Regions from separate parts of the Homo sapiens genome. Here regions 2, 3 and 4 are each linked to region 1. The links are contacts of gene promoters, found by promoter capture Hi-C in blood cells and fetal thymus (Javierre and others, 2016). All regions are on one chromosome and are shown on one strand. The core of a region is centred on a gene start or on the middle of the fragment in contact, and the rest is flanking DNA. Distances in the headings are between cores, read along the strand shown. Region 1 holds the start of FKBP3 (FKBP prolyl isomerase 3). Region 2 holds the start of MBIP (MAP3K12 binding inhibitory protein 1). Region 3 has its middle 140 kb from the start of SSTR1. Region 4 overlaps GEMIN2 (gem nuclear organelle associated protein 2).

The links. The method cuts DNA at HindIII sites, captures the fragments that hold promoters and counts their contacts. A CHiCAGO score of 5 or more calls a contact.
Region 2: a contact is called between a fragment that was not itself captured here and the fragment with the promoter of FKBP3 in region 1, in 1 of 17 cell types (total CD8 T cells). The highest score is 8.4, in total CD8 T cells.
Region 3: a fragment that was not itself captured here is called in contact with the fragment with the promoter of FKBP3 in region 1 in 1 of 17 cell types (activated CD4 T cells); the score reaches 5.0 in activated CD4 T cells.
Region 4: a contact is called between a fragment that was not itself captured here and the fragment with the promoter of FKBP3 in region 1, in 13 of 17 cell types (naive CD8 T cells, total CD4 T cells, non-activated CD4 T cells and 10 more). The highest score is 30.5, in naive CD8 T cells.

Annotation. Positions count from the first base shown.
Region 1 is chr14:45,130,860-45,138,402 of GRCh38, reverse strand. FKBP3 (FKBP prolyl isomerase 3) reads left to right here and starts at 3,922. Exons shown (of 7, transcript NM_002013.4): 1 at 3,922-4,054. The coding sequence starts at 3,947. FANCM (FA complementation group M) reads right to left here and starts at 2,473. Exons shown (of 23, transcript NM_020937.4): 1 at 1,864-2,473; 2 at 1,162-1,334. The coding sequence starts at 2,371. RefSeq lists enhancers at 2,270-2,319, 2,982-3,852, 3,946-4,165, 3,853-4,724 and a silencer at 3,799-3,976. The HindIII fragment of the contact is 3,907 bases long and covers 1,325-5,231 here.
Region 2 is chr14:36,317,909-36,325,451 of GRCh38, reverse strand. It overlaps MBIP (MAP3K12 binding inhibitory protein 1), which reads left to right and starts at 4,815. Exons shown (of 9, transcript NM_016586.3): 1 at 4,815-4,992. The coding sequence starts at 4,864. RefSeq lists enhancers at 4,417-4,466, 4,867-5,126. The HindIII fragment of the contact is 533 bases long and covers 3,917-4,449 here.
Region 3 is chr14:38,059,454-38,066,996 of GRCh38, reverse strand. No RefSeq gene overlaps it. Among named protein-coding and RNA genes, the nearest start is that of SSTR1, 140 kb to the left of the region's middle. The HindIII fragment of the contact is 578 bases long and covers 2,623-3,200 here.
Region 4 is chr14:39,117,559-39,125,101 of GRCh38, reverse strand. GEMIN2 (gem nuclear organelle associated protein 2) reads right to left here. Exons shown (of 10, transcript NM_003616.3): 3 at 7,014-7,103; 4 at 6,503-6,562; 5 at 2,559-2,672; 6 at 66-110. Among named protein-coding and RNA genes, the nearest start is that of GEMIN2, 7.0 kb to the right of the region's middle. The HindIII fragment of the contact is 5,325 bases long and covers 158-5,482 here.

The DNA of each region.
Region 1 (7,543 bases), core at 2,673-5,172:
AATTATCCCTAATACAGAGATATAATACAATAACGTTTACAGTCCCCAAAGAAATGACTATACAAATTCAAAAACTGGCAGAGAAATTCATGTCTTTGCCCTAAATGAAATTAACTTTCCCTACCTTTCCCTCTTTTATTCTTGCTCTATAATCTCCTCCTATCATCACCAACTACTATAGTTTTAACTACCATCTATATGTTTATAATTTCCAAATCTGTATCTCTATCTACCTCAGAACTCTCCAGCAAGATCCATACTTCTATCAAGTATCGCCTAATGAATATCTACAGCTGAATTCCTCATAGACACCTCAAACTCAACACATCTAAATCATCTTTCCACGTTCCCCCTAAACCTGCTCTCCACCCAGAACTCACAATCTTCACAGTTTTCCAAGTCAGAAATCTGGAAGTCATCCTACATCCCTTCTACCCCTCATTAGATACTCTGTCTTTAGCCTTCTTCTCTCTAATCTCTTTCAAATCTTAAGTGTTATCCCAGCCAAACATTTTTTAATGAGTCCCCACCACCTTTATCCCCTATGGCCTACAAAGGCTTTCAAACTATTAAGCATAAAATATTAATGACCTGGACCTTGAGTAGAAGAGGCAAAATCCCCCTTAGGAGAAGAGGGAAACAGAAAGTCAACTTCATTCAGTGCAAAGATATGAATGATGTTTGCAACCACATCCCACTACTTCATCTTATTTTATATTCCTGGAGTACTCAACTGGAAGGCACTGTGTTAGGTATGTGGCATACATTATGTCATTATTTTACCTAGCCGCCAAGAAGAGACACCGCATATCCACTACCAATCTTTATTAATTTCAAAACTCCTTTCATACCCTATTTTAGATCACTGTCCCAACCATGACTAGGCTCTCATGATCTACATCTGACACTAATTATCTGGTTAGTCTTAAAATAGAAGAAAAGAAAAAGAAAACAACAATAACAGCAAAAGGCAGTGAAGACACTGATTTGAATGGATGACAGAAAGTACAGATATTCTTTATCACCATCTGTTCTGAGATAATAGACGTAAAGGCTTTTTATAATAATATTGTCAATAACTTCCATCACTAGTAACTATTCGCCAAAATTCTCTTTAACAGTACAGTTACAATACAAAATACCGTTTAACAAAATTATTACCTGGCAATAAGCATAGTTTCCGAGAGCTTTATGAGCTTCATCAATAACTAAACACTTTATTTCAGCAGCGGGACAAGCTCCTCTAGAAAGGTCATTTACCATGACCTGAGGTGTAAGAAAAAGCACTCTCTTACTGCACCATATTTCCTTCCTGGTGGAAGCTTGTGTAGACCCTGAAAATAAAAGTGACATTCTACATTCTAAACTTCAGACTGTTATCTATAAAATATAAATAGTCTGGCTTTTTCAGAATGCAAACATGCTTTGGTAACATTAAGAGAAAAACAATTTGACAATTCATCGGAATGCTACATTTTAAAGTTCTGGTGTGGTCCAAATATCAAAGCTGGCACTTATCTAGGACTACAACCAAATTGTCTTTAGAAAATTCCTACAAAATGGCATATTTGAAGAGAGGCAAATTCTTCAACTGAGAAATCTTTTTCAGGAAGAATGCCAGGAAATATCATGTTCAGTTACCCATGGGGTATACGCACATAATAGCTTCAAAATACTATGACAAGCTGCAGATATTCTCTGAAGATTGAATAAAGCAACCCTATTCATCAGTTTTGGGCTTGCTGCAAGTAGAGAATGTTTTAAGAGGGAGGGCGTAAGATGCACATGTTGTAGCTTGGGAACTATTCCACATGGGTCAGGAATTCCCAGCTCTTACTTCAAAATTAGTCCAGTCTAAGATACCTGTCATTTCGGCCATGTGGGATTGCGGGATACCCATCACCTGGTAGCAAGCCTCGATCTGCTGTGTCACCAAGGGTTTCGTTGGGGCCATGAAGACCACCTTTCCTGAAGGGAACCAGCGGTAGAAATTGTACATGACCACGGCGGCAATAAAGGTCTTTCCCAGTCCGGTAGGCAGACACACCAGCGTATTGCAAAACAGAGCAGCCCGGGAAATGTGCAGCTGGTAGTCCCGCACTGGGCAATTGGTAGGGTAAATCCACAGGGCGCCCGCGGAGGTGCAGAACCCGCCATTCTCTAGACACAACTGCCGCTCAGCCTCGTACGCCGCGACAAGCAACACATCATCGTCCGACTCCAGCTGAGCCTCCGCTGCTGCTGGCAAAGGCGCCTTGGAGCTGCCAGGGCTCTGAGGTCGCTCAGTTCCGGAGCTGCAACCCGGAGTCCCAGATGATCGGGAGATACTTGAGCCCCACGTCTGAAAAAGCGTTCTTTGCCGTCCGCTCATTAGGCCGACAACCACCGAAGGCTTCTGTCAGATATCCGTAGCAGCAGCAGCTCAACCGCTACGGTTCCGATCCCCATCGGTTTCCTTCGCACAAAACTCTGGAACGAGAAGGCGGGACTAAGGCCAGTTTATCCAGTTGAAAATGCCGCTACTGAGTTTCCGTTGGGAATGATTGGCTGGCTTCCCGGAAACCTTCACAGCCCTGCCGGAGACTCATGCGCATTATTAAGGCGTTACTCTAAATATGGTCCCCGGTGCGGTTCCGGTGTTTTGTTTTAACAAACTCTAAATTTAAGTTCCGTTTCCAATGATTAGATGGCTGGGCGTCATTGCTAACGTGATAAATCACTTAAAATGTTATAATAGAGATTTATTGTAAAATATTACATACCCGGGGACAATGGAATAGCCACCAGTTTGGGAACTTAATGTTATTGAGCGTCTAACGTGCCTCATTCCTTGTACTTTTAAATCAGAATATAAAGTGAAAAGCAAAAATGTGTAGATGGAATAATTTGTCTTATATCTCTATCTGGGCTGAGAAAACAAAATGCCAAGTCTCTTTTTCACCGCGCTGGGAGTGGCAACCCATTATTTTAATATTTTCATTGTTTAAAGGGAAGTGAACGTGGTCTGGTCCAGCTATTCGTCAGAATTTTTTTTTTTAATGCTCCTTGCAAAGCAGAGCTAACTCATAGGCAACATGCCCAGAGTCAGCCTACATTTTTTTAAGTAAGGAGTCCTGATGTTCAACTATTAAATCTTTATTATAGGTAAGAGCATTATAATAAACGTCGGTGTGCAATTATTCCACTCTAACGAAGATTTCTGTCTCAAATAATTCCTGACTTCTCTCTAAACCTGACTTTGAGTAACCTCTGTAAATTTGTTTCCTCGTGTACTGAGAAAAAAATATACATCACAGAGTTACGAGCATTAATAATGTCATTCTCATCAGCAAGTGGCATCCTGAGTGCGGCTTCTTTATAAATTGTTTTATTTGTTAAAGTTTCTGAACTTCGTTTTGGACAAACTTTCTCGTATTTGTATGGGGGGAAGGGGATGGGCAGTTTGTATTTAAGTTTCGGTTGTGTGATCTTTAAAAGGGAAATGGTGGGATATGGGTTTTCGGATCGACAAGGACTGAAGCACTTCAGGTGTGACTTTTTAGGCTAGAACTAGATAAAACGAGATAAGGAGCCTGAATGCTGTTTTCTTTTAACAGGTTATAGACTGGACTTTAAAGGCATAGCTGCCTTAAATGTGGGTAATGGTTGATAAATGTCGCTACCATCAGAGGTCGCTTCACAAGGTGTCTAATTCAGAATCGAAGATCTCTAGCGGTCTTCTACTCAGTCGACTGCAGAGACGACCGCGGTAGGTTTTTCAACCCGGACTCAACAAAGAAGCCCTCATAGCACAGCCTTGACGTCACTCAAAGACAGGCCCCAATCCCGACTGCTAGAGCAGAGGCCCGCCCCTCGACCTCCGTGAGTGGCCCCGCCCCGCCCTAGGGGGCGGGGCGATGCCGAACTGCGGCGGGCTGGCTCAGTAAAGCGGAGGCAGCGGGGGAAGATGGCGGCGGCCGTTCCACAGCGGGCGTGGACCGTGGAGCAGCTGCGCAGTGAGCAGCTGCCCAAGAAGGACATTATCAAGTTTCTGCAGGAACACGGTTCAGATTCGGTACCAGAGGCGTAGGGGCGGCCGGGCTGGTGCGGCTGAGGGACGCCTCACCCCCCTGGAGATGCCCATACATTCCGTATTCCTCTGTGCCCCCGCCCTCGTCTTCCCGCGGCCGGTGGCCTGGAAGGCCGGAGAGGCCCAGCTTGTGCTTTGGTGCCTCGCTCCCGCCTCTCGGGCGTTCTCTACTGGGGCAGGGGAGCAGCTTTATTTCTTGGGGCACACAGGCTGCAATTGTAGAGTTAGAACCTCATTGGGATCCTTGAGTGGGGGTGGAGGCCAGAAAAATAGGAACCCGAGGATATTGGGGGCTAGGGCGGAGAGGCCGAGGAATAGTGGTGTGGATGAGACTCCTGGGAGCGGGGCGCCGGCTACTAGGGAAATGGGAAGGGATGTGAAGATTTCTGTGGGAACGGTGTATCCAACTTGCTTTTCTCAACAGTTTACTAAATACTGAACATTAATGCGTGTGATTTTTAAAAAATCCGTAGGTTGTGGTTTAAGTTTTGATTTAACATATCGACCCTTTAAATGACCTTTTCACCTTTATACTTTAAGGGAGCTACATGCACATTTCTCTTGTGCAGTGGTCTGTCATTGTTATAAACAGACTAAGAAATTTATTTGAAATGCTTTATACTGTAGGCTCTCCATTTGTCAGCATAGTCTCCATCTTAACCATCCGTCTATAGTCAAGTTATTTTTGTTACACTTGTTTTTCCTTTGGAAAATAAGTTCATTCATGCACCTGTTAAATTGCTGAAATAGTTGTGCACGCAGCATTCTCTTACAAGCGGCAGCCTGCTTGTGTTTTCTATACAATTTTTAAAATTCTAAACTTTTCATTTAGAAAAACTGTTTCTGGGTTTTTTTGTTTGTTTGTTTGAGACGGAGTCTCTCTCTGTTGCCCAGGCTGGAGTGCAGTGGCGCGATCTCGGCTCACTGCAACCTCCGCCTCCCGGGTTCAAACGATTCTCCTGCCTCTGCCTCTCGAGTAGCTAGGACTACAGGCGCGTGCCACCACGCCAGGTTAATTTTTTGTATTTTTAATAGAGACGGGATTTCACCGTGTTAGTCAGGATGGTCTCGATCTCCTGACCTCGTGATCCGCCCGCCTCGGCCTCCCAAAGTGCTGGGATTACAGGCGTGAGCCACTATTTCTGGGTTATTTTGAGAAGCTTATATTTTATTTTCATTTTGGGCGGGCGTCATGACAGGGAGATAGAAGAACTCTCCAACTTCCAGTGCCTTCTTCCTTAATTATTATCCTGGCATCCGCATCTTAGATTAATTTAGCAGATATTAATACAACATCTGTAACAAGAACTATTCTCAGTGTTTGGAGGTACAAGGGTGAAAAAGAACATGTGTCGGGGATCTTACCCCATTTTAATGGAACTATTTTCTCTTAAGCCAATTCGTATTTCATCTGAAACAATAGAATAGACATCATTAACATTTAATAATACCTCAGTCATGTACTTCATCCATCATATTCTTATGAAACAAATCATGCCATGTGGAATCGTATGTAAAACTGGGCCACGTGGAAGAATTTCAACAGACTTGGATTATCAAAATGTTTTTATAACATTAATCTTTTAAATGCATAGTCTCGGTCGGTCGTGGTGGCTCATTCCTGTAATCCTAGCACTTTCGGAGGCCAAAGCGGGCGGATCACGAGGTCAGGAGATCGAGACCATCCTGACTAACAGTTGAGGCCAGGCATTGAGGACCAGCCTGGCCAACGTAGCGAAACCTCATTTCTACTAAAAATACAAAAAAAATTAGCTGGGCCTGGTGGTGGGCGCCTCTAATCCCAGCTGTTCGGGAGGCTGAGGCAGGAGAATCGTTTCAACCCAAGAGGGGGAGGTTGCAGTGGGCCGAGATTGGGCCACTGCACTCCAGCCTGGGCGACAGAGCTAGACTCTGTCTCAAAAATTAATAATAATAATCTCCGGTGATCATTAACACTTAGACCTATACTTGACAATAATTATTTTATTAATCATAAGATATCAAAGAGATGTTTATGCTTTTATGCTTTGGGTATTTTCTGGAATCTTTAACAAGAAACCACCAGCATGCTAAAGGTAACTGATTACTTCCGTTTAGTCAACTTTGTCTCCTTTCCCCATCAGCTGTTATTTAGAACATATCTTTGAAAGAAAAAGCAAAAGAAAAAAATACAATAGTGATAGTGTTAGCTGTTAACTGCTAATAATGTTAACTGCTTTATCAAAAGCTTAGAAGATGCCAAAGGACAACTTTGAGAATGTAACAAAATTAGGAATTAAGCAAGGACCACAAGGCAGAAAAAGAAGCAGAATAAAATAAGGAAACAAAGAAGTTATGGAAATCCTCACAATTACGTGATTTTCAGATAAAGTTATACTACGACTTGCTATTTCAGCAGTAGTATTTTAGTGTCCATCTGCCATCTTAGCAGTCTTATATTTGAAAGAAAAGCAATTCCGCTGTTACCTTGAGTTATTAAATACAGTATTAATCATAATCCCAATATTTATTAAGTTCTTACTGTGTGACAGGCTCTATGCTAAATGCATTAAATGGATTTTTGCATTTTATCCTTATATCAACTCTTTGACGTAGACGCTGTTATTAATCTTCCACTACAGATATGGAGGCTGAGTCTTTAGACAAGCTTAGTCCCCTGTCTAGTGTCAGACAGCTAGGATTTTTTTTTTTTTTTTTTTTTTTTTGAGACAGAGTCTTGCTCTGTCACCTAGGCTGGAATGCAGTGGTGCGATCTCGGCTCACTGCAACCTCCACCTCCCAGGTTCACGCCATTCTCCTGCTTCAGCCTCCCGAGCTGGGACTACAGGCATGCGCCACCATGGCCAGCTAAATTTTGTATTTTTAGTAGAGATGGGGTTTTGTCACGTTGGCCAGGCTGGTCTCAAACTCCTGACCTCAGGTGATCCGCCTGCCTCAGCCTCCCAAAATGCTGAGATTACAGGCATGAGCCACCGCGCCCGGCCCACACAGCTAGGATTTTAACCTAGATAATATGACTCCACAGCCCATATACTTAGCAATTATATATATAATGTTAAGCATAGCAATCTCAACATATGTATGTTACATGCTTGTGTAACAGTGACTCTTCCTAGTCGGCTAAGAATGGGTTACAAATGCCTCAGGATAGCTATGTCCAACCTGGCTGGAGGCTCTCAAGGGCTGCACCCAAGTATCCTCCTGCAGTGAGCAGCTGACTCAAGTCACCACAGTGTGCTTGCTGTATAAATGTTATTTTTTGTGAGTGTTGACAGGAAAAAGTTTAGGATGAAACACTGTGTTCAGTACATAACACTACAGTTGCAGTCTTGTCACTAATTCTTGTAAATACCGAATTTTTAAAAAATCTCTTACTTTTTTTGTAACAAAGAGTATAAACTATAGGCTTTATTTCTTCTTCAGTACTAGTACTACTGAAAACACAACTGCTAACATAAAAGGATCGTTTTCTAA
Region 2 (7,543 bases), core at 2,934-5,433, 8.8 Mb after region 1:
TTTAAAAATCTTTATTTCTCTTTCATTTCTGAAATGGAGATGTGAAGTCTAACTTCCCTTCCCTTGAGTGTCAGCCAGACACAACTACTTGCTTCCAACAAATAAATTCCAACAATGTGTAACTTGAGAGACTAGGTCCTAAAAGGTGTGGCTTACGTCTTGCTGGGTTTTTTTTCAGAGTGGGTGATAGAACACCAAGCAAAGCCACTCCTGAATTTCTGACCCACAGAAACTATGAGATAAGAAATGTTGTTTTAAGCCACTAAATTTTGAGGTGATTTGTTGGACAGTAGTATGTAACTAATATTGAGGTTCTCCAAACTTCTTGGATCTGTGGTTTGATGTCCTTCACTATTTTTGGAAACTAGCGTCATCATCTCTTGAAATATCTCTTTGCCCTATTCTCTCTCTAGTCTCCTTTTACGATTTCAATTACAGGTACCTCAGACTGAATAATGTCCTTCAGTGCTTAGATGCTCATTTGCAGTGTTCAATATTTCCCAAATCATCTCTTATGGTGCCCAACCATCTGTAGCAGAGCAACACCCTCTTCTCTGAGGGACTCCACAGGGCTGTTCTTCTAAATTCCACAATTTTAATAATTCCTCTTTCTTTTGTTTCCCCCAGCCCTAGAGATTAGCTGCTTCCTGAATGTACTACCTCTGTGATACTTTGTTTTATTACCTTTTCAGTTAATTAACCACTTACCATAATTAACAATGTTTATAGTAAACTTTCTCTGTTCAGATAACATGTATGGCTTCTGTTTCCTGATTAAACCTCAACTGATACAGAAATTGGTATGAGATTTATTTATACCAGTAAGTAAATCTTCAAAAATGGGAGTTTGAGATTGGTTTAGTTATGTCCTTGGGCTTGACTGCACTGCTAAACTCCTTGCTAATAGGAAGTAATGTTGTGAGCCATTGCATGAAATGGCAATACAATTTGCCAATTATTATCCCAATTTACTTGATCATGAACTGTTTTGCTAAAATTAGCACATTATAGACTAGCATTCCATAAAATACACTTTAGGAAATGCTTGCTTAGCCATACTTCTCTATTTAATGTATCCTCCCTAAACATATTAAGCATGTTCAAGTTGCTGTTCATGTTTTCTATAAATTCCTTGAGAATTCTTATTTATCAATTCATATTTTGATATCAAATTCATATTTTTATCAATATCAATTCAGATTTTACTTTAAGTGTTTATAGCTTTTCCTGATTCTGGACCCAACCCCCTCCCCAAAGGAACTAATTGGCTGCATTACTTTATACATACCTCTAATATGGCCATTGTCACATTATATGAAGTTGTTTGTTTATATATCTACCTATCCCACTAGAACGGGAGCTCTTTGAGGAACAGTCCTTGTCTGATTCATCTTTGTAGCTCAATGTCAATTAGAGTGCCTGGTATATAGTAGGTACAATTAATTTGTATGTGTAAAATTATTGAGAATGGTTATGAAGGCTAGCTATATTTACTCCCTTAAGAAAACTTAGAACACTTTGAATTTGCTGCCACAAAAGAGAATAAACAGACTTGTTTCGTTATTTAAAATAAATTGTTTATAGCAGTCTATATGTTACAATTTTCCTTCAACAATAGGCACTTGTTTACTTTTTTCCATTTTATAAATCTGTTCACTTATGAAGGCAAATAAATTCAGCTCAACAGGCATATACTGAGCAATTAACTCTGTGCCAGAAACTATGCTAAGCCTTATGTACACCAACATATAAATGCTTATAGTTCAATAAGGAGACAGATATAGTCAAATAAATTCAAGTATCACTGTGATAACTACAATAATAGAAGTATATACAAGTTGTAGGAGTAGTTTAGCAGAGGAGAAAATAAGCTCTTTATGAGGGGGGATTCCCCAAAGATTTTCTAACTGGAGTTTGAAAATGGAAAAGGAGTTTCTCAAGCAGACAACAGGCACTGGGTAAAAATCAAAGCATGGAGGCAAGAAATAGTAAAGTGTTGAAGACATAAAAGCAGTTTCAGAAGCACTAAGCACCAGATGGTTTGTGGCAGAAAATGAGGCTGGAAATTTAGGCAAAGGCCACATCATAAGAGCCTTCATGTCATTCTAAAGAACTTGGACTTATGCAGCAGGTGATGGGGAGACAGGGACGACAAATACCATTTATTTTACTTTTTCTGCATTGAAATAAAATCTGTATTATCATATATGCAACAAACATCAGTTGAGCCCTTCTAATACCTCAGGTATTTTGCTGGGAACTGGGTTATTCAATAGAGTTATGCCATTAAAGCTCACCATAAAAGACATTTTTGTTGATAAGGTAAATAGCCTAGATTTCATTTATAGTCTCTATCCTCCCAATTGATTCTTGGCATAAGCCTGCTGGACAGTATTTCTAACTCTGTTGCTAACGCGAACACCAACACTTTGAATCATTTCTGCCAGGCAGCAGATTTTTCAGCAACCCACTTTATAAACTGTAATTAGTTTTCCATAAAGAGCAAATTATTCCCTTTATTCCCTTTCTAAATTTCATAGCGCATATTATACTTTTGTTATACATACATACACACATACAATATCTACAAATTTCTATTTTGAGTTGGCCCAAAGGAATCCAAATCTTTTCAGGCTACAAACTCTTCTATTTAAAATAGAATTTTCTATTATAAAATAAGAAAATGAGAAAAATTTCCAAAATGAAGGTAATAGGCATCAAGAAGAGTAAGAAAGGTCCTTAGAAAGAAGAAAGAATGCACAAAAGAGTTAACAAATTTTAAGTACTACTGGTTGAGTATCCCTTATCTGAACTACTTGGGACCAGAAGTGTCTCAGATTTCGGATTTTTTTTAGATTTTGGAATATTTGCATATATATAATAAGCTATCTTGGGGATGGGACCCAAATCTAAACACAAAATTCATTTATGTTTCATGTATACTTTATACACATAACTTGAAGGTAATTTTATATAATGTTTTAAATAATTCTGTGCATGAAACAAAGTTTTGACTACATTTTAACTGTGACCTGTTATGTCGGATCAGGTGTGAAATTTTCCACTTGTGGTACTGGCACTCAAAAAGTTTCAAATTTTGGATCATTTTGGATTTTGAATTTTCAGATTAGGAATGCTCAACCTGTACCTAAGTAAAGAATACTAAGATACAAGTGCAGGTCTGGATATCAAATCACAGAATTACATGGAGAAGCAATACACAGATCAAATGGCCATCAGTTAATTCTGTATTAGAGGCTCAAAAGAACAAGTAAAACTTGAAAATTCAAAATCAATGATGGCAAAGAAAGGAATAGCAGCACCTTGTTAAAGACAACATTTTTTAAATATACAAAGCATATTCCCAAATGTGTTGCATATCAGTGTTCTCCATATTTGAAAAAATATGAAACACCTCAATGAAAACAAATGATCTGAAACTGATTGCTAATTTGGTACAAAACAAAAACTTACAGTTACCCCATTACCATGCTTGAATAAGAAGGTTGCTCAATTTGAGACTGGACATTGTGAAGTATTTTTCTGCCTGTAGAAATAGGCTGGAATGTCAGTTGTATATCTTGCTGCCAACAAGGGAACAGAAAAGATTTCCCAAGATTCTGTCAAGCCTGGTGATCCCATTTGTCTTTGGAAATGAAAGCCTAATTAAGAGACTCCCTAGGGACAGGTCAAAGGAGTTTTTATCCCCATCGTCCTTATCTTAGTTCCTTGATGCATTAGTCCTTCCCTTTAATTTAGTCTACCCTAAAACTAAAGAATACACATTGTGCAAGTTTCCACCTTTGCTTTCTCTACTGTAAATGCATTAGACTATTAACAGAATTACGAGTTTTAAATCCCACCTTCCTTATCTCTAAGCTGATGTTGATTTCTTAAAGTGTTTTTGAATAAAGCTTAACACTAAAAATTATTGTAATACTTTAATTGGATAACACTTTTTAAAAATATCGGAGTCTGACTAAAAGATTACAAAACCCCACAAACATCGTTATAATAAAGCTATTATGATAAATAATACTTTGTAAAATTTGAATTCGGTTTTATGTCCTAATTTCAAAGATTGTGGTTGCATGATATTATTTATCCAGGTTAAATTCCTGTTGGAATTATATTGACAGTGTTTCATTTCTTTGAAACAATTTTAGGGTTAAGCGTCTCTACAGTTAAAACAGAGAATATCAACTGTAGTCCCAGTTACTCAGGAGGCTGAGGCAGGAGAACCGCTTGAACCTGGGAGGCGGAGGTTGCAGTGAGCCGAGGTAGTGCCACTGCACTCCAGTCTGGGCGACAGAGTGAGACTCTGTCTCCAAAACAACAACAACAAACTTGAAGAGATGAAAATGTTCTATCCAATCATGATAATTCCGTGTGAGTTTTCCAATGTTTAGAAACACGTGTGGGCACCACTCCATCCCTGACCAGCAAGCTTCCTCCAGACCCACTCCACACCGCCATGTTAAAATGTCAACTTTTACTTTTTGGACTCAAACTACAAAATTTAACTATGTCTCCTCTTACCAAGATTCACAATGAACACCTAGGAGTCAAGGTAGGCTTCATAACGCTAAAGAGACCACGACTCTAATGACCACCCCAAACACAGCATTCCAGCCTAGCTGTGGTCTGCAATTACCCACTTCAGAGCCTCGGCGCAATGTCACAGCTGCAACTGATTGGTGTAACGTGCTTGTCATTCACATAGAGAGGGTGGGGCCTCAAAGCCCGATCTAAACCAGACTCCGTGTCTTACGTCATCGCCAAGCGACTAAAGCTGGAAGGGAGGGGGCGGGGTTGTGAGCAAATCTTGGTGGTGGTGGTGGTGGGGCGGCCTGAGAAGATATCATGGCTGCTGCCACGGAGCTTAATCGCCCGAGCAGCGGTGACAGGAACCTGGAGCGAAGATGCAGACCCAACCTCTCCCGAGAGGTGCTCTACGAAATCTTTCGCTCCCTACACACCCTGGTTGGACAGGTGAGAGGTGGCCTGAGGGACTGGGAATATGGAAACCATCCGGTCCCTCCTCGCCATTCTTTTTCTCTAGCAGAGGCCGGGGGCAGCTAGGCCTGCAGAGGTGTGGGATGCGGTCCCGAAGCCGAGGTGTGGAAGGAGCCCGGGCCCAGCCTCCTCGGTCGGAGTGAGGAGGACGGCGGTACCGGTTGCAGAGTCGTTTACCTTGCAGCTGTCCTCCCCAAGAGTGGGTGAGGTTGGCCTAAGTGAAAACCCGGCTCCGAGAGAGGCAGGCTTGGAGAGAATGAATGTGGAAAAGCTTCACTGCGAGTTTAGGAGGCGCTTAGCGTTCAGGGTCCTTTTTCCTCCAACTTACTCTTTATGGGAATTGGTTGGTCAGTAGGCCTGAGATTTATAGAAAAGCGCGCGCTTATTAGCTTTTTTTGGTGGGGGAGGGAGTAATTTGTTCTTATGAGTTACTTGGTTTTGTTTATTTCTTTTTTCCTTCGGGCTGTTTTGCGCATCTATAATCCTTTCAAATGGGGAGAAAAGTAAAAGGAATTCATTTAAAATACTTCTAGCGTAAAATGCTGTTGGCGTTAGAACTGTCGTTATTTAACTATTAACTAGTTTAACTGGCTGATAAATCGCTTTTGCAGAAATGTCATAGTAAAATTGGTTTTAAATTGAAATGGGCTTCTTCGATCAAGTCACTGTTTCGTTTCATGGTGTAAAATTCAAGTTTTAAATGAGAAACAATTTAAAAGTATGCTTGTTTACCTGCCTTTTAAAAGGAAATATTTTCTATCTTACATAGACCATTTTCTAGCCGTAAAAGTTTGTTTTGGGGCTGGTACTAGCGCAAGTGGACAAAGCAGGCATTTGTGTCAAAGATAATGGTAAATTCCTATGAAAATAGAACATTTGTCTGATTTGTGAAAATTATTTTTAAAGCCTTGAGTAGATGGAGAATCAGTCTTTTAAGAAGTTACTATTTTTAAAAATCGTAGTATGTTGTGTCTTACAAAGAACATTACTGTAAGTTAAACGGTTTTATGAAATGACGCAGTTATTAATGGAGTCTGCTTAAAGATATAACTTTTAAATTCAGTTGTTTGCCAAGTACTTACCAAAAACATTTTTTAAAGACTTGGGGTGTTTTGTTATTAACATTCCATTCTTAAGACCCAAGACGTTTAAATGGTTTAAAAGTTAGAGAACTTTTTATGGCGACGTTGGAACTTAAGTTTATTTATTTTATAATGTCAAGATGAAAAAAGTTTATTCTCACCTGTTAACAGAAGATGGAATATTTTTAAAAAATACTGAGCAATGATTTAAACATTTCTTTTGAAATATTTTGCATACTGAATTTTTCAAACTCATTAGAAAATTTTAAACATTCAAGTACTGTACAAGTAAAGAAGTGATTACAATTTACTTATGTCACCTGTCAAAAATGTTCACAGTAAATATTTGGTTACTTTACCATGACACAGTGAAGGGACCTCCTATACAAGTGTCAAAAATATGATTGTTTCATCAATTAAATACAAACTGTTTTCATAATACTCTATATTTTGAGAAGTGTTAAGAGTGAAAATTAGAGTTCCATACTTATAAAATTGCCCCCAGAGAAATCAGTATTTTCTTTTGCAACCACTTTAAAGGATATTTAGAATGTATGTTGTAACATGCCTAACTTCATCCTGTGTCATCCCTAAGTATCGTTGTATTATTAGATCTCCTCAGTAGGAAACATAAAACTGAATGTTAAAAATAATTTTTTACTTAAGATCACAAAATTTACTAATTTTAACCTTTTTGCTTGCCTCTGGATGGTCCATCTTACCAAGCTAAACAATTATTTATTTTTAGCTTGGATTTTTGTATTAATTTAGTAAAGTTTTTACTGAAAATATATATTTAAATAGTCTATATTAATAGCAGACTAATAGAGATTTTCGAGTGAGTGGTTTACTCTTCCAAGTTCTGTAGGGCAAAATGCATAGAGTTCATATTACTAATAATGAATTTGTTGAATGAATAGTTAGATGTATTAGGACAGTTTTAAAATTAATTTGTGACATTATGTGGTTTTCTTAAAAGACTAATTATTCTTAATTGCACTTGAAGCTTATGTAATTCTGCTGAATTGAAATGAGAATATGAACCAAACATTAAGACTTATTTTTCTATAAGTTATTTTCTCTAGAAAATGTGATACTTTGCTTTGGTTGAGGATTTGCCTGCTTTATCCCCAAGCTGTATTCTTAAGTTTTCTATAATCAACTATAGATCTCCTTGAAGACTATGAAAGTACATTAATGGGTTACTTCCATACATAATACAGGTTGTTGTCTAACAAAATCTTTATAGGAATTAAAGTAATATAAATTAATGCATTAACTTTAATGTACAATCTTAATATATTCTAATCTTTGCCAGTGCAGCCTACATGAAATTTCATATCTCTTTATACTTGTCTAATATGGACTTTTAAATGCTTCCATTCTCATCTTCAAAGGGCAGTAAATTTCTGTCACATAGTATTTATTCAATATATTATCTTTTT
Region 3 (7,543 bases), core at 1,662-4,161, 7.1 Mb after region 1:
TCCTATATACCAATACCAACACTCACGTGCACACAAATACATACATACAACCAAGTAACAAACAAGAAGTGGTGGGGAAAACAACATCACAATTTTCTTAGGGACGTGAAAAATATAAATAAATGGATATATATATATACATATATATATATACACCTTATTATTTGTTAAGAATACTCAATAGTAAATATTTCCATTTCCCATAAATTAATCTAAATATTTAGTGAAATATCATTTAGAATAACAACTTTTTGTAAAGAGACCAACTATTTTTACAGTTTAACTGAAAAAAAAGTAAATATGTGATGATAATACCCAGAACATTCTGAAAATGAATAGAAATGTGTATAGAGGCAGGTAGGAGAGTGTAGAGAAGCCAAGGTGTCCAGACTGTGGAATGGTTACAAAGAGTTCAAAAATACATATAAGCAGATATGAGAATTAGTACAGTAGTCCTCCCTTATCTAAGGGGGATACGTTCCAAGACCTCAGTAGATGCCTGAAACCTTGGATAGCACTAAACCTTATAAATACAGTACTATGTTTTTTCGCACATATCTATGATAAAGTTTAATTTTTGAATTAGGCAAGTAAGAGATTAACAACAACAACAATAATAATAAAGAACAATTATACAATATACCAGCATCACTACTCTTGCACTTTGGGGCCATTACGAAGAAACGTAAGGGTTACTTGAATAGAAACACCGTGATACTTGTGGAGTCTTAATTGAGGAGAGGGAGTCAAGTTGGTGGAACTGAGGGAAAGCAAAAAGAGAAAGCAGATAAGCTCTAAGTCTGCCTTTCTTCTTGGTCCAGGATATGTAGCCCTCCTGTGCAAATAACACAATCTTCCTGTACCCAGCTATCACCAGATCCTCAGCTGACTAAAATTTAAAAAAAGTTAGTTAGGATACTGCAATTTTGGCATTATTAGAACTGCACAAAGCCCTCCTCAGCACACAGCATAAGCACCATCCTATAAAATTCCCAGGAAGCCTTTGTCTCTTTGCAGTTAGCTCCTCTCTTGCTAACCTGTCTGTAACCACTCTTGCAACATATTTCCATACTTTCTCTATTAAATCTGCCTTTCTTTACCTACAGCTGTCTTGTAAATTATTCTTACCGCCACACCACTGGCCTCAAATAGTTGCTGATCACCCATGACAACACTGATGCAGACAAACCCCCAAATTGGTGCTCAATCCAGAGGGTTCTTGGCTTCATTCAGGAAATAATTCAAGAGACAGCAGTGAAAGAAAGCAAGTTTATTAAAGATTACAACAACAGTGTACAGCAAAATGGCTGTCCATAGACAGAGCGGGGCTCTCCCATAGGCAGAATTGCCCAGAGTAGCAGTGTACAGCAAAGTGGCTGCTCTATAGGCAGAGCAGGCCAGAGCAGTAGCAGCAGTCCCAAAAAGGAGGAGGAGGAGAAGGAGGAGCAGCATCAGCGTACAGCAACAGTAGCAGTGCAGAGTAGCAGTTCCTGTAGATTGGTAGCTAGCTATGTTTATACCCACTCTTAGCTGTATACTAATTAAGGAGTGAATTATTCAGAATTTTCTAGAAAATGGGTGAGGGAGTTCCAAAACCATATAAAATAACTGCTGGGTTGTTGTCATGGCATTTGTAAACTGTCATGGTGCTGGTGGGAGTGTCTTTATGCTAATGAGCAGTGAGAGCAACTAGAGATCACTTTTGTCACCATGTGGTGGTTTCCACCGGTTTCTTCACTGCATCCTGTTTTGATCATCAGGCTCGTGATTGGTGCTGGGAAAATAAGTCCCGTTCATCTCCTACCTGAATACTGCTGCAGTCAATCTGATAACCAAGAGGGCCACTGAGTGACTAAAGGGCAGGTAGACAGCCTGGATACGCTGGACAAAGGGAGGATTCTTGTCCAGTGTGGACAATGCAAGGCAGTGTGAGATTTTATCACACTATTCAGAACAGCATGCAACTAAAACATTATTTCCAGAAATTTCTATTTAATATTATCAAACCATGATTGACCTTGGGTAACTGAAAATGCAGAAAGCGAAACTACAGATAAGGGAGTATGGCCATATAAGCAAATGATGGAGAAAGGAAAGATATTTCAATACATTTTGATGAGACAACCAGTTAGCAATTTAAACTAAAAGTATAGCTGAATTATTCCCTCACTCTTTATACCAAAATAAATTCCAGCTGATTAATTTTGAAAGAAAAAAATGAAGCCATAACTGTAATAAAGAATATATCCCAATTTTTCAAAATTCTGAAGTTAAAGAACTTTTTTAAAATCAAAACTATAAAATCCACAACCCATAAATATATGTCGATAAATTAGTTCCTATGAAGATTTAAAACTTTTCTGTTGTTAGAACCAAATAGTATAAACAAGGACAAAAGTTTTTTAAAAAGTGGGGGAGAGAATATTTGCAATATATTGAAAGATAAAATACTATTTTCCTTAAAATATAAAACTCTCAGGCTAGGAGAAGTGGCTCATGCCTATAATCCCAACACTTCAGAAGGCTGAGGTTGGAGGATCACTTGAAGCCAGGAGTTCACGATCAGCCCTAACAACAAAGTGAGACCCCCATCTCTACAAAAAACAAAAATGACACAAAGCTTTATGTAGAAATTATATATGTGTATACGTTTTATATATATGCACATATATAAAACTTCTAGAAATCAATAAGAAAAATACCCCAAATCTTTTAGAAATATAATAGGCATTTCACAGAAAAATAAACACATATGGCTTATAAGCAGATGGAAGGATGCCCAATTCTTCTCATAAATAAATGCAAATTAAGGCAAAATAAAGATAGTATTTTTTAGCTGCCAAATTGGCAATAGTTTGATAGTATACAGCCTTGGCAAGTTCGTGAGGAAACAGGAATTATCACACACAGACAGTGAATGTACACATTATCACAACTTCTTTGGAAGGGAATTTGACAGTAACCATAAAAACTAAAAATGTGGATATCCTCCAACACAGAAATTTGATTTTGAGGAATGTATCCCATCGATACTCACATGAGTGCAACTGCAATGTACAAAAATGTTTTAAAGCATAGTTATATACATAAACAAACATTGGGAGCAACCTAAGTATAATCATAATTAGACTGTTAAGTGCATGAGACTCTATTTTCTGGGTGGTTTCACCACTTACTAGTTTTGAAACCCTGAACAAGCTTCCTCAGCACTCTTGCCCCAGGTTCCTCATCTGTAAAGCTGTGCCAAAAGAAATACTGTACATGTTTCATTGGATAGTTAAGAGTAAATGAGTGAACACATAAGTCAAAAGGCAAAAAATACACTTTAGCTTAAAGATCTTAACTTGGCTTTATTTGCAAGTCCAGAATCCAGCAACAATTCATTCTATAAAGTATAATATGTGTTCCAATGAGCTGAGTAGAATAAGTTGGCTTTATAGACAGAGAGCTGAAGAAAGCAGAAACAAAGAACAAAAAGCAGACATGTTATTTCAAAGTTACTTTCCTTGTAAGGTGCAAACAGGGAAATAAAACAATAGAAAAATGACCCATTAGTTAACTTCAGGTAATCCCAGGTTACTTTTTGTTGTAAGGATTAAAGGCAGAGGGAATTTCATTGCCATGCAGATTAAAACTAACCTATTTGGGAAATTTGGTTATCTCTCTCTCCTGATTTCTGGAAAGGACACATAACAACTCAGTTTCCATGTGGTGAGTAGAACCTCAGCATGACGGACTCCATTCTGGTTTTTAGTCTGATCTCTTGGGGTCTAGTGCAGGAGCTCAGTCCAAAATAAGGACCTCCTGTAATTTTTATTTAACACATATAAAGTGCTTATGACACAATATGTGTCTCATTTATATGTGTATATGTGTATATAAATTACATACATATACACATGTATATATGTATACATATGTAAAAGTATCTACACTAGTGTAATATTAAAAAATTATGTTAAAACAGTAAAAATTCATTCTTAATATGGAAGTATCTCTGAGATATATTGTTACATTCAAACAATAAGCCAAATAACAGAGTGGGTTGTGCTCTCATGTATGTTCAAAAAGATATGTATTCACATAAAGCTCCAAAATGATCCATGGGCAACTAAAGGTAATACACCTTTCCTACAAGATACATATGAAACTGCTTGACAGTTGTTGCCCATGTAGAAAGGGTCTGATATGATTTGACTGTGTTCCCACCCAAATCTCATCTTGAATTATAAGGCCCACCATTCCCATATGTTATGGGAGGAACCCGGTGGGAGGTAATTGAATCATGGGAAGGAATCTTTCCCATGCTGTTCTCATCATAGTGAATAAGTCTCTTGAGATCTGATAGTTTTAAATATGGGAGTTTCCCTGCACAATCTCTCTCTCTCTCTCTGCCTGCTGCCATCCATGTGAGATGTGACTTGTTTCTCCTTGCCTTGTGCCATGATTGTGAGGCCTCCCCAGCCACATGGAGCTGTAAGTTCATTAAACCTCTTCTTTTGTAAATTGCCCAGTCTCAGGTATGTCTTTATCAGCAGTGTGAAAATGGATTAATACAATAAATTGGTACCAGGAGTGGGGTGCTACTGAAAAGATACCCTAAAATGTGGAAGCGACTTTGGAACTGGGTAACAAGCAGAGGTTGGAACAGTTTGGAGGGCTCAGGAAAAAAAAAAGATAATGTGAGAAAGTCTGGAACTTTCTAGAGATTTTTTGAATACCTTTAACCAAAATGCCGATAATGATAAAGACAATGAAATCCAGGCTGAGGTGGTCTCAGATGGAGATGAGAGACTTGTTGGGAACTGCAGCAAAGGTGAATCTTATTATGCTTTAGCAGAGAGACTGGCAGCATTTTGCCCCTGCCCTCAGGATTTGTGGAACTTTGAACTTGAGAGTGATGATTTAGTGTATCTGGTGGAAGAAATTTCTAAGCAGCAAAGCATTCAAGAAGTGACTTGAGTGCTGTTAAAGGCATTCAGTTTTAAAAGGGAAACAGAGCATAAAAGTTCAGAAAATTTGCATCCTGACAATATGATAGAAAAGAAAAACCCATTTTCTGACGAGAAATTCAAGCCTGCTGCAGAAATTTGCGTAATGAGAAGCTGAATGTTAATTCCCAAGACAATGGGAAAAATGTCTCCAGGGCACGTTGGAGGTCTTCACAGCAGCCCTTCCCATCACAGCCCCAGAGACCTAAAAGGAAAAAATGGTTTCATGGGCCAGGCACTGTGCCCCCTTGCTGTGTGCAGCCCAGGGACTTGGTGCCCTGCATCCCAGCTACTCCAGCCATGGCTAAAAGGGGCCAGGTACAACTTGGGCTGGCAACTGCTTCAGAGGGGGCTTGCACCAGAGGCAGCTTCCACATGGTTTTGAGTCTGTGGGTGTGTGGAAGTCAAGAATTGAGGTTTGGGAACCTCCACCTAGATTTCAGAGGATGTATGGAAATGCCTGGATGCCCAGGCAGAAGTTTGGTGCAGGGGCAGGGCCCTCGTGAATAACCTCTGCTAAGATAGTGCAAAAGGGAAATGTGGGGTTGGAGCCACCACACAGAGTCTCTACTGGGGCATAACCTAGTGGAGCTGTGAGAAAAGGGCCACCATCCTCCAGATCCCAGAATGGTAGAACTCACCAACAGCTTGCACCATGCTCCTGGAAAAGCTGCAGACACTCAATGCCAGCCCAAGAAAGCAGCCAGAAGGGAGGCTGTACCCTGCAAAGGCACAGGGCCAGAGCTGCCCAAGACCATGGAAACCCACCTCTTGCATCAGTGTGACGCAGATGTGAGACACAGAGTCAAAGGTGATCATTTTGGAGCTTTAAAATTTGACTGCTCTGCTGGATTTCAGACTTGCATGGGGCCTGTAGTCCCTTTGTTTTTGCCAATTTCTCCCATTTGGAATGGCTGTATTTACCTAGTGCCTGTAACCCCATTGTATCTAGGAAGTAACTAACTTTCTTTTGATTTTACAGGCTCATGAGCAGAAAGACTTACCTTGTCTCAGATGAGACTTTGGACTGTGGACTTTTGAGTTAATACTGAAATGAGTTAAGCCTTTGGGGGACTGTTGGGAAGGCATGACTGGTTTTGAAATGTGAGGACATGCGATTTTGGAGGGGCCAGGGGTTGAATGATATGGTTTGGCTGTGTCCCCACCTAAACCTCATCTTGAACTGTAACTCCCACAATTCCCAGGTGTCATTGGAGGAACCTGGTGGGAGGTAATTGAATCATGGGAGCAAGTCTTTTCCATGCTGTTCTCATGACAGTGAATAAGTCTCAAGAGATCTGATGATTTTAAAAATGGGAGTTTCCCTGCACAATCTCTCACTCTCTGCCTACTGCCATCTATGTAAGATGTGACTTGTTCCTCCTTGCCTTCACCATGATTGTGAGGTCTCCCCAACCCCATGGAACTATAAGTTTATTAAACCTCTTTCTTTTGTAAATTGCCCAGTCACTGATATGTCTTTATCAGCAGCGTGAAAATGGACTAATACAGGGTCCAAGATCAGAAGTCAAAGATATTTTAGTGTATATTTTTATGTGGCTTGATATTCTTACCTTGGGGATACATTAATTTTTAAAATTACAAATCTAGGTAGTTTTTTAAAAGAAATTGAATCAAGCAGCTAACTAAGGAGACCCTCACATTAAATTATGGTTCTCAGCTTCATCCAGGAATAATGTCCCAGTCCACAACTTCCCTCTTCTATCTCTTCTATAGGATGACCCTTCTGATTACATTACCCATCATTAATCCAGAAAACAGAGCAAAGGTGACATAAAAACACCTTTGTGACTGGGCACATTGGCTCACACCTGTAATCCCAGTGCTTTGGAAAACTGAGGTGGGAGGATCACTTAAGACCAAGAGTTCAAGACCAGCCTGGGCAGCATAGTGAGATCGCATCTCTATAAAAATAATAATATAAAAAGGAAAAAAGAAAACACCTTTGTGTTTTGCAGTGACAATTTTAGGAGCAGCTGAGATTCCTCAGCAAGGGCAAATACGAAAATAGAAAGCAGTGATTCTCAACATAGGTCCTCAGCCACACTCAAGCAATCATATTGTTGGCTCAACAATGTGATTCCTATAATCCATCCCATGATCCAATGGGCAAATGACTTGTCTCTCATTAGTCCCTCATTTTTACATACAATTAAAGGTCTATTTAGCAGGAAATTTTATGTAAGCTATTTAAAAGTTGAAACCATTTAAAATATATTAATATTCTACATTTTGTTATCAGGCAGTTCTTTTCAACAGAAAAATGAGTAGGATAGGCAGTCTATAGCATCTGCGTTTCCTATTGTTGTGTAACAAATTGCCACACACTTATAACAATACACAGTTATAATCTCACTGTTGTCTTGGGCCAGGATTCTGGTGTAGCTTAACTGGGTCCTTGTCTCAGGACATCACAAGTCTGCAATCAAGGTATCAGCTGGGCTGTGTTCTTACCTGGAGTTAGAGTTCCTTTTCCAAGCTCATTCAGTTTGGAAAATGTATTTCTGTAACTGCCTAGTGGGTTCACCTGG
Region 4 (7,543 bases), core at 1,571-4,070, 6.0 Mb after region 1:
CAATTCAAATACTTTCACACACAATGCAAACAAAAGAATGCATATATCTCTATTATTAATTTTACCTGATTCATTCTGCTAACAATACTAAGCAAGGGAGGAAAACCAATCTGAAAGAAAAAATGAGACTGAATTTTACTAAATGGTATTATAAGCTTCATTTTTTTTTTTCAAACTGGTGAATTTCTTGCCACACTGTTGTTTAGAAACAAAGAACAAATAAAAGAAAATTCTTTCATTGTCCATAACAATGAGACATTCCGGAAACTACTATGTTTGTAATGCGGAAGAAAATAACGCCTTAAATTTTGAATATGTAATTTTTTTTTTAGATGGGGTCTCACTCTGTCACCCAGGCTGGAGTGTAGTGGCGCGATCTTGGCTCACTGCAACCTCTGCTTCCTGGGCTCAGGTGATGCTCCCACCTCAGCCTCACGAGTAGCTAGGACCACAGGTGCATGTCAACACGCCCAGCTAATTTTTTTGTATTTTTGGTAGAGATGAGGTTTTGCCATGTTGCCCAGGTTGGTCTGGAACTCCTGAGCTCAAGTGATCTACCTGCCAGAGCCTCCCAAAGTGCTGTGATTACAGGCATGAGCCACCTCACCTGGTCTGAATTTGTAAATTTTTAAATAAAGTATGATTTTAGTAAGTAAAATGTTAAAGACTAAAAATTTTTTACATGATAGTACTTGAAAAAACTAACTTATTAAGTATATCCAATAAAACTGTAACATTGATAAGATGACATTAATATGTTGTATACACCATTTCAAAATCTTCAGCTAAAGCTAATATTTTCAAGAATTAAGGACACTTGAATTAGAATGACATTTTTAAAACCTAATTTGATTCAATTTTTAAAAGTCTACTTTGGAGTCTGAGGCTGTGATTGCTAATTATGAAAATACCACTGATTTGTGAGAAACTTAAGAGGATATACATTAAACGCTTACTTCCTTAAGGGTTTTTTTTAACATGGTGTATTTTACTTGTATGTATTCTCTGAAAATAAGCTAAATAAGTAAGTTTTAATTCTTTATAAATTAAAAACCATTTTTGGCTAGCCATGATAGCTCATGCCTATAATCCCAGCAGGAGGATTGCCTGAGCCCAGGAGTTTCAGGCCAACCTTGCAACATGGTGAAAACTTCTCTCTACAAAAAAATTTTTTTAAAAAATTAAAAAACTTATCGCTACAAAAAATTTAAAAATTAGCTGGGTGTGGTGGTGGGTGCCTGCTGCCCCTGGTATGTTGAAGGCTGACGTGGGAGGATTGCTTGAGCCCAGGAGGTTGAAGCTGTAATGAGCTATGAGTGCACTACTGCACTCCAGCCTGGATGACGGAAGAAGACCCTGTCTCAAAAAAAAAAAAAAAAAAAAAAAAAAAAAATATATATATATATATATATATAGCTATTTTTGAAATGTAGCATATGTTAAGGATATCATCCAAAAGATCAATTGGTTATATAGAAAGAGTACCAAATTAACTTCCCTAAGATTTGAGTCTATTTATACTCCTGTACCACGTCTAAGAGTGCTTGTTTCCCCAGCTCTTGTCAATATGGTGTATCAAACTTTCTTGGCCAATATGTTACCTGAAAAATAGCACCTTGGCATAGTTATGTTATACTTCTATTACAAGTGATTTTTGGCATCTTGTCATATAAGAATAATTTTATTTCCTTTCTGTGAGGTATCTATATCCTTTGGCTATTTTTTCTTGGGCAGGGGAGGGGTGATTCTTGGTCTTTTTATTGATTCTTGGGGCTTTTTACATTTTTAGGAAAAATTAGTTTTAAATGTGAAAAACACAATGTGGCACCATATAGCAAATAATAAATACCTGTTGAACTGAAAAGAACTACATGCTATAGGGAGTAAGCGCTAATGCAGAGGCATGCACTGGATTCTCAAGGAACACCTGCAAACTTGGGGGCAGGTAAATCCTGAAGGACAAGGAGTTGTCTACATAACTTATGATTACAGCCACATGAATTTTAAAGATATCCTCAACATTTCATCTTTAGAATATGTGATTTATTTTTTACAGGCCCATGAAGTGATAGATGTGATTATGCATTTTAAAGCATCTAATTGTGTCGATTTCCATTTTTTCCCTGGCTACTCATAACACTGTTTGCCTGATGCCTCATCATTTAAAAAAACTATGAATCTTATCCAACTCATAAAATGATTACCAAGCCAAACATAAGGGATATGAAGCCAAACTAAAAAAAGTCACAGTAAATTGTTTCAGAAACTAAGCTGTTTTGTTAGGTTGAAGAGCTAATAAACTAAGTCTGGGTTGGCAAACATTTTCTATCAAGAGTCAGACAGCAAATATTTTAGGCTTTGCAGGCCACATAAAGTCTCAGCCACATATTATTTGTTTCTTTTTTACTCTTTCAAAACCTAAAAACAATCCTTAGCTCATGGATATAAAAAAGGCCATGAACTGGACTTGGCCCAGGGTAGAGTTTGCTGACCCCTTATATTAAGTGGTGCACCAAAATTAAAATGCTTTTTGTTCTGTTTATCCACACAGCCCTTACTTGTACATAATCTATTCCAGGACTTTCATTTGTGGCTGGTCCAACAGCCCCGTCAGCACATAACTTTTCACCCAGACAAAATTTCTTCCAGCCTTCTTCATCTTCAGATTTTGGCTAAAAGAAAAAAAAAAAAACTGATTTATTCCTGTGTATTAATTTTTACACTGAACAGTAAAAAAAAAGAAGTTAAGTCCTTCCATATTCCCATTACCGCAACCCAAAGATACGGAGCCAGTTATGGGGAGAATCTCTGCCCCCAAATTTGTATGTTAAAACCTTAAACTCCAGTACCTCAGAATGTGACTGTATTTGGAGACAGGGCCTTTAAAGAAGTGATTAATTTAAATTGAGGCCATTAGGGTGAGCCGTAATCCAATCTTACTAGTGTCCTTATAAGAGGAAATTTGGATTCACAAAGAGACACCAGGGACTCCCACACACAGAGGAAAGACCACGTGAGAAAACAGGGAGAAGGTGGCCCTATGCAAGCCAAGGAGAAAAGCCTCAGAAGAGACCAACCTTAGGCCGGGTGCGGTGGTTCACGCCTGTAATCCCAGCACTTTGGGAGGCCGAGGCAGGCGATCACATGAAGTCAGGAGTTCAAGACCAGCCTGGCCAACATGGCAAAACCCCACCTCTACTAAAAATACAAAAAAAAAAAAAATTAGCCGGATGTGGTGGTGCACACCTGTAATCCCAGCTACCCAGAGGCTGAGGCAGGAGAATCACTCGAGCCTGGGAGGCGGAGGCTGCAGTGAGCAGAGATTGCGTCATTGCACTCTAGCCTGGGCAACAAGAGCGAAACTCTGCCTCAAAAAACAAACAAACAAACAAAAAGAGACCAACCTTGCTGCCACCTTGTTCTTTGACTTTCAGCCTTCAAGACTGAGAAAATAAATACATTTCTGTTGTTTAATCCACCTAGTCTGTTATGGCAGCCCTGACAAACATAGTGCCTAAGTGGCTACACAATATGTGGGACATGTTGTTTTTCCTTATTATTACATTTTTTGAGACAGGGTCTTGCTCTGTCGCCCAAGTTGGAGTGCAGAGGTGTGATTACAGTTCATTGCAGCCTGAATCTCGGGCTCAAATAATTCTGCCACCTCAGCCTCTTGAGTAGCTGGGACTACAGGCATGTGCCACCATGCCTGATAATTTTTAAATTTTTTTTGTAGAGATAGTTGTCTCACTATGTTGCCCAGGCTGGTCTCAAACTCCTGGCCTCAAGCAATTCTTCTGCTTTGGCTTCCCAAAGTGCTGGGATTACAAGTGTGAGCCACTGTGCCCAGCCAAGATGTGTTTAGTTTGGACAAGACTTTAGTGGACACTGACAGACAATGGTGTGTCCAAAAGAGGATGATAAAGACAGAAATAAGTATGGGGGAAAAAATGCACCAAGAACACTTAATAGAATGAAGGATATTTATCCCATGTAAAGAGACATGATTACATATTTCACATATTTGAAGGGTTGTCCAGTCAAAGAAGAAACAGATCTACTCATGCTGCCAGACAGAAAAAGCAGGACGCAGGACTATTTGGGAGAAGCATTCAGCTCAATATAACCTCCTTAACAAAATAACCTTTGTTTGTACATATCACCTTGTATATTACTTTGCATAGGTGCATTTTCCCCCTAGGGATAAGTAGCTTTCATTAAATCCTTAGGATGAATCACCTGAGGTCAGGAGTTCGAGACTAGCCTGGAAATATGGTGAAACCCCGTCTCTACTAAAAATACAAAAATTAGCTGGGTGTGGTGGCAGGCACCTGTAATCCCAGCTACTTGGGAGGCTGAGGCAGGAGAATTGCTTGAATCCAAGAGACAGAGGTTGCAGTGAGCCAAGATTGTGCCACTGCACTCCAGACTGGGCAACAAGAGCAAAACTCCATCTCAAAAAAATAAATAAAATAAAATAAAATAAAATAAAACCTCACGATGAACATGAGACCACTACAAAGTTAAACCCTATTGTCTTGGAATAAGGTTATCTACCTTTTCCTAACACTCTATTAGGTCAGAAGCTGTTTCTGTTTCAGTTAGTACTGAATATCCTGATTATTAAATATAGCACATGCTTAAATTATTGGATCAATTAATAAACAAATGTTTATGTTTTCACACAGTTGCCATCACAGTGTACTTTATTTTTTAAATAATTTAAATAGAGACAGGGTTTTGCCATGTTGCCCAGGCTGGTCTCGAACTCCTGAGCTCAGGTGATCTGCCCACCTCAGCCTCCCAAAGTGCTGGGATTATAGGCATGAGCCACTGTGCCTGGCTCAGAGTGTACTTTAAAACATTTTCATTTTATTACTTATATGATGTTTGCATTTGCCATGACAAACACTTAAAATTGCTACATAATATTCCACTGTTCTGATGGACCATAGTTTATTGAATCAATTATGTTAGGTCATTTCCATTTTTGACAAAATTTTATCAAGTCATAATGTTACTGATGTGGCTTCTTTTTTAGTTAGTGGGCATGCACCCAAAAGGCCTTCCGCTAAGTAAGAAAAAAAATATATTTACCTACCTAGCCCTGTCCCTACTACATACATACATCCTTGGTACTAGGAAGGCACCATTGCATAGTCAAAGGCACACAGGCTTTAGAGACAGACCAACTTGGGTTTGAACCTTAAGCATACCTTTTGTGTGTTTATGTGCGCATGCTTCTTTGATAGAAGGACTAGCTATACCTTTTACAAGTTAAATGACCATTGGCAAGTGATAAGTTACTTCCCTTCACGCTTTTCCTGGAGCAGAGCTTCCAAATGGTATGCAGAAGCATACAGAGATGCCATATACTGAATCTCTCAGCTTTCGGCTGGTTTCAGGAAGAATATGCAAGCAGTCATTTATTCTAATGTGTCACCATGTAAAAGATATCAGGAAGCACTGCCTAAAGGAAGCTTCTAAAATCTAAAATCTATGAACTACCTGAAACTAAAATGTTGTGCATAGGTGCATTTTTTTTCCCTCTGAAGATAAATAGCTTTCATTAGATTCTACGAAAGAATATGAAGTCCCCTAAAAGGTTAAAAACTACTGTCCTGAGACAATGTATCATCTTTCCAACTCCTTTTTTCATTTGGTAGTCCTGATATATCTACTAAAGGGCTTAAAGTTATATCTAAACTGATAAAATATAGGACATATGCATGACAATATACATGACAGGTTTCACTTATATGTCACTGGAATTGTGACACAGACTCATCACATTAAGCAGAAGCAGAATCCATTCACAAGTTCTGTAAACATGTGAGTTTACTGCATGGCACCATCACCTCATCAGGAAAATCCATTAAGGCTTTATTCAATTTTTTTTGTAAATATTGAAAATGTATTTATTTCCTAGAAAGTAAATGTCTAGAAGAATCCTTAAAAACTTGTGGAAGTTTCACAGTCACCTATCCAAAGTCCCCCAAGATATTGTGAATTAAAATTGACATGAAAGGCTGGGTACAGTAGCTCATGCCTGTAATCCAGCACTCGGGGAGGCTAGGGCAGGAGGATCACTTGAGCCCAGGAGTAAGAGACCAGCCTGGGTAACACAGGGAGACCTTGTCTCTACAAAAAATTTTAACAATTAGCTGGGCATGGTGGTATATGCCTTAAGTTCGAGCTACTTGGAAGGCGGTGGTGGGAGGATCACTTGAGCCCAGGAGGTCAAGGCTGCAGTGAGCCATGACTGCACTCTAGCCTGGGAGACAGAGCAAGACCCTGTCTCAAAAAAAAAAAAAAAAAAAATTTGTCATGAAAATCTATACTTTCCAGGCTACTAATGTAATGAATTGTTACTATTAATGGTATATTGAAGAGAATGAAAGTAACACTGACTAGGCAAGTGAATCTTTAACGACTGGAAGTAAATATAGACTCTTTCAATCAGGTATACATTGTACATCTTAAAACTGAGAAACTTACATACCATTGTCACATTACTATCCAACTGTTGTGATTTCCAGTGACTTCTATGTTTGTTCACATTCTAAAGGAAGAAAACTTAGACATTAGATGGTACTCTTCAAAAAATGGATAACTGAAATCAGTTTCTGCACAAAATTGTAACCATCTAAAACTTGAAAAATGGGAAAGGTGGGAGGGGGTGAGATGTAAAAGACCATGTATTGGGTACAGAGTACACTACTTGGGTGACAAGTGCACCAAAATCTCAGAAATCACCACTAAAGAACTTATCCATGTAACCAAAAACCACCTGTTCCCCAAAACTATTGAAATAAATAAACAAACAAATAAAAATAAACAAAACTTAGAAAATATTTCAAACTGTATCATGTCTAATGATTATAAAAATAATTTGGTAATTAATTCATGAATATTCTGTATACTTTAGGATCATAAATTTTATTTTTCCAGCTACAGTCTAAGAACAGAAATAAATCCAACAGGGGCTTAATTAGATTAAATATGACACTTACCTGTCGAACAGTTGAAAACTGTGCCACTTGTTGCTGTTGCCATTGAAGTGTTGGGGAATAACCTTCAGGGGCGGGTTGGCATCCTGAAAGCTAGAGATCAAGTTCACAAATATTAGGATCAACATTAGTGTCAAAACTAGAATCTCATGCCTCTGCAAAGCAAAAGTAAAACCAAGATAAAGTGTATAATAAAATAAAGATTATACAAGAAAATAAAATATTTTTGCAGATGTAAAAAAGTAGGCATTTCACTTTATTATTTATATCTCAGTTAAAAATATTAGGGAAAGAGCCTTAGTCACCTTAATCAGAGAAATCTGGAAAGGTTTATAGTTGGAGTTTCTATGAAATCTAAATGACATGAGCCTGGAGAATATGATCTAGCCCTACCTGCCTTTCTAGAATAGCAAAACAGAAACAAAAAGAGAGATATACCACAAATAAAGAATTCTGGTATGAAATACAGTTAGAAGGAATGAGTTCTAGCATTCAATAGCACAGTAGAGTGACTACAGTTAACAATAATTTAT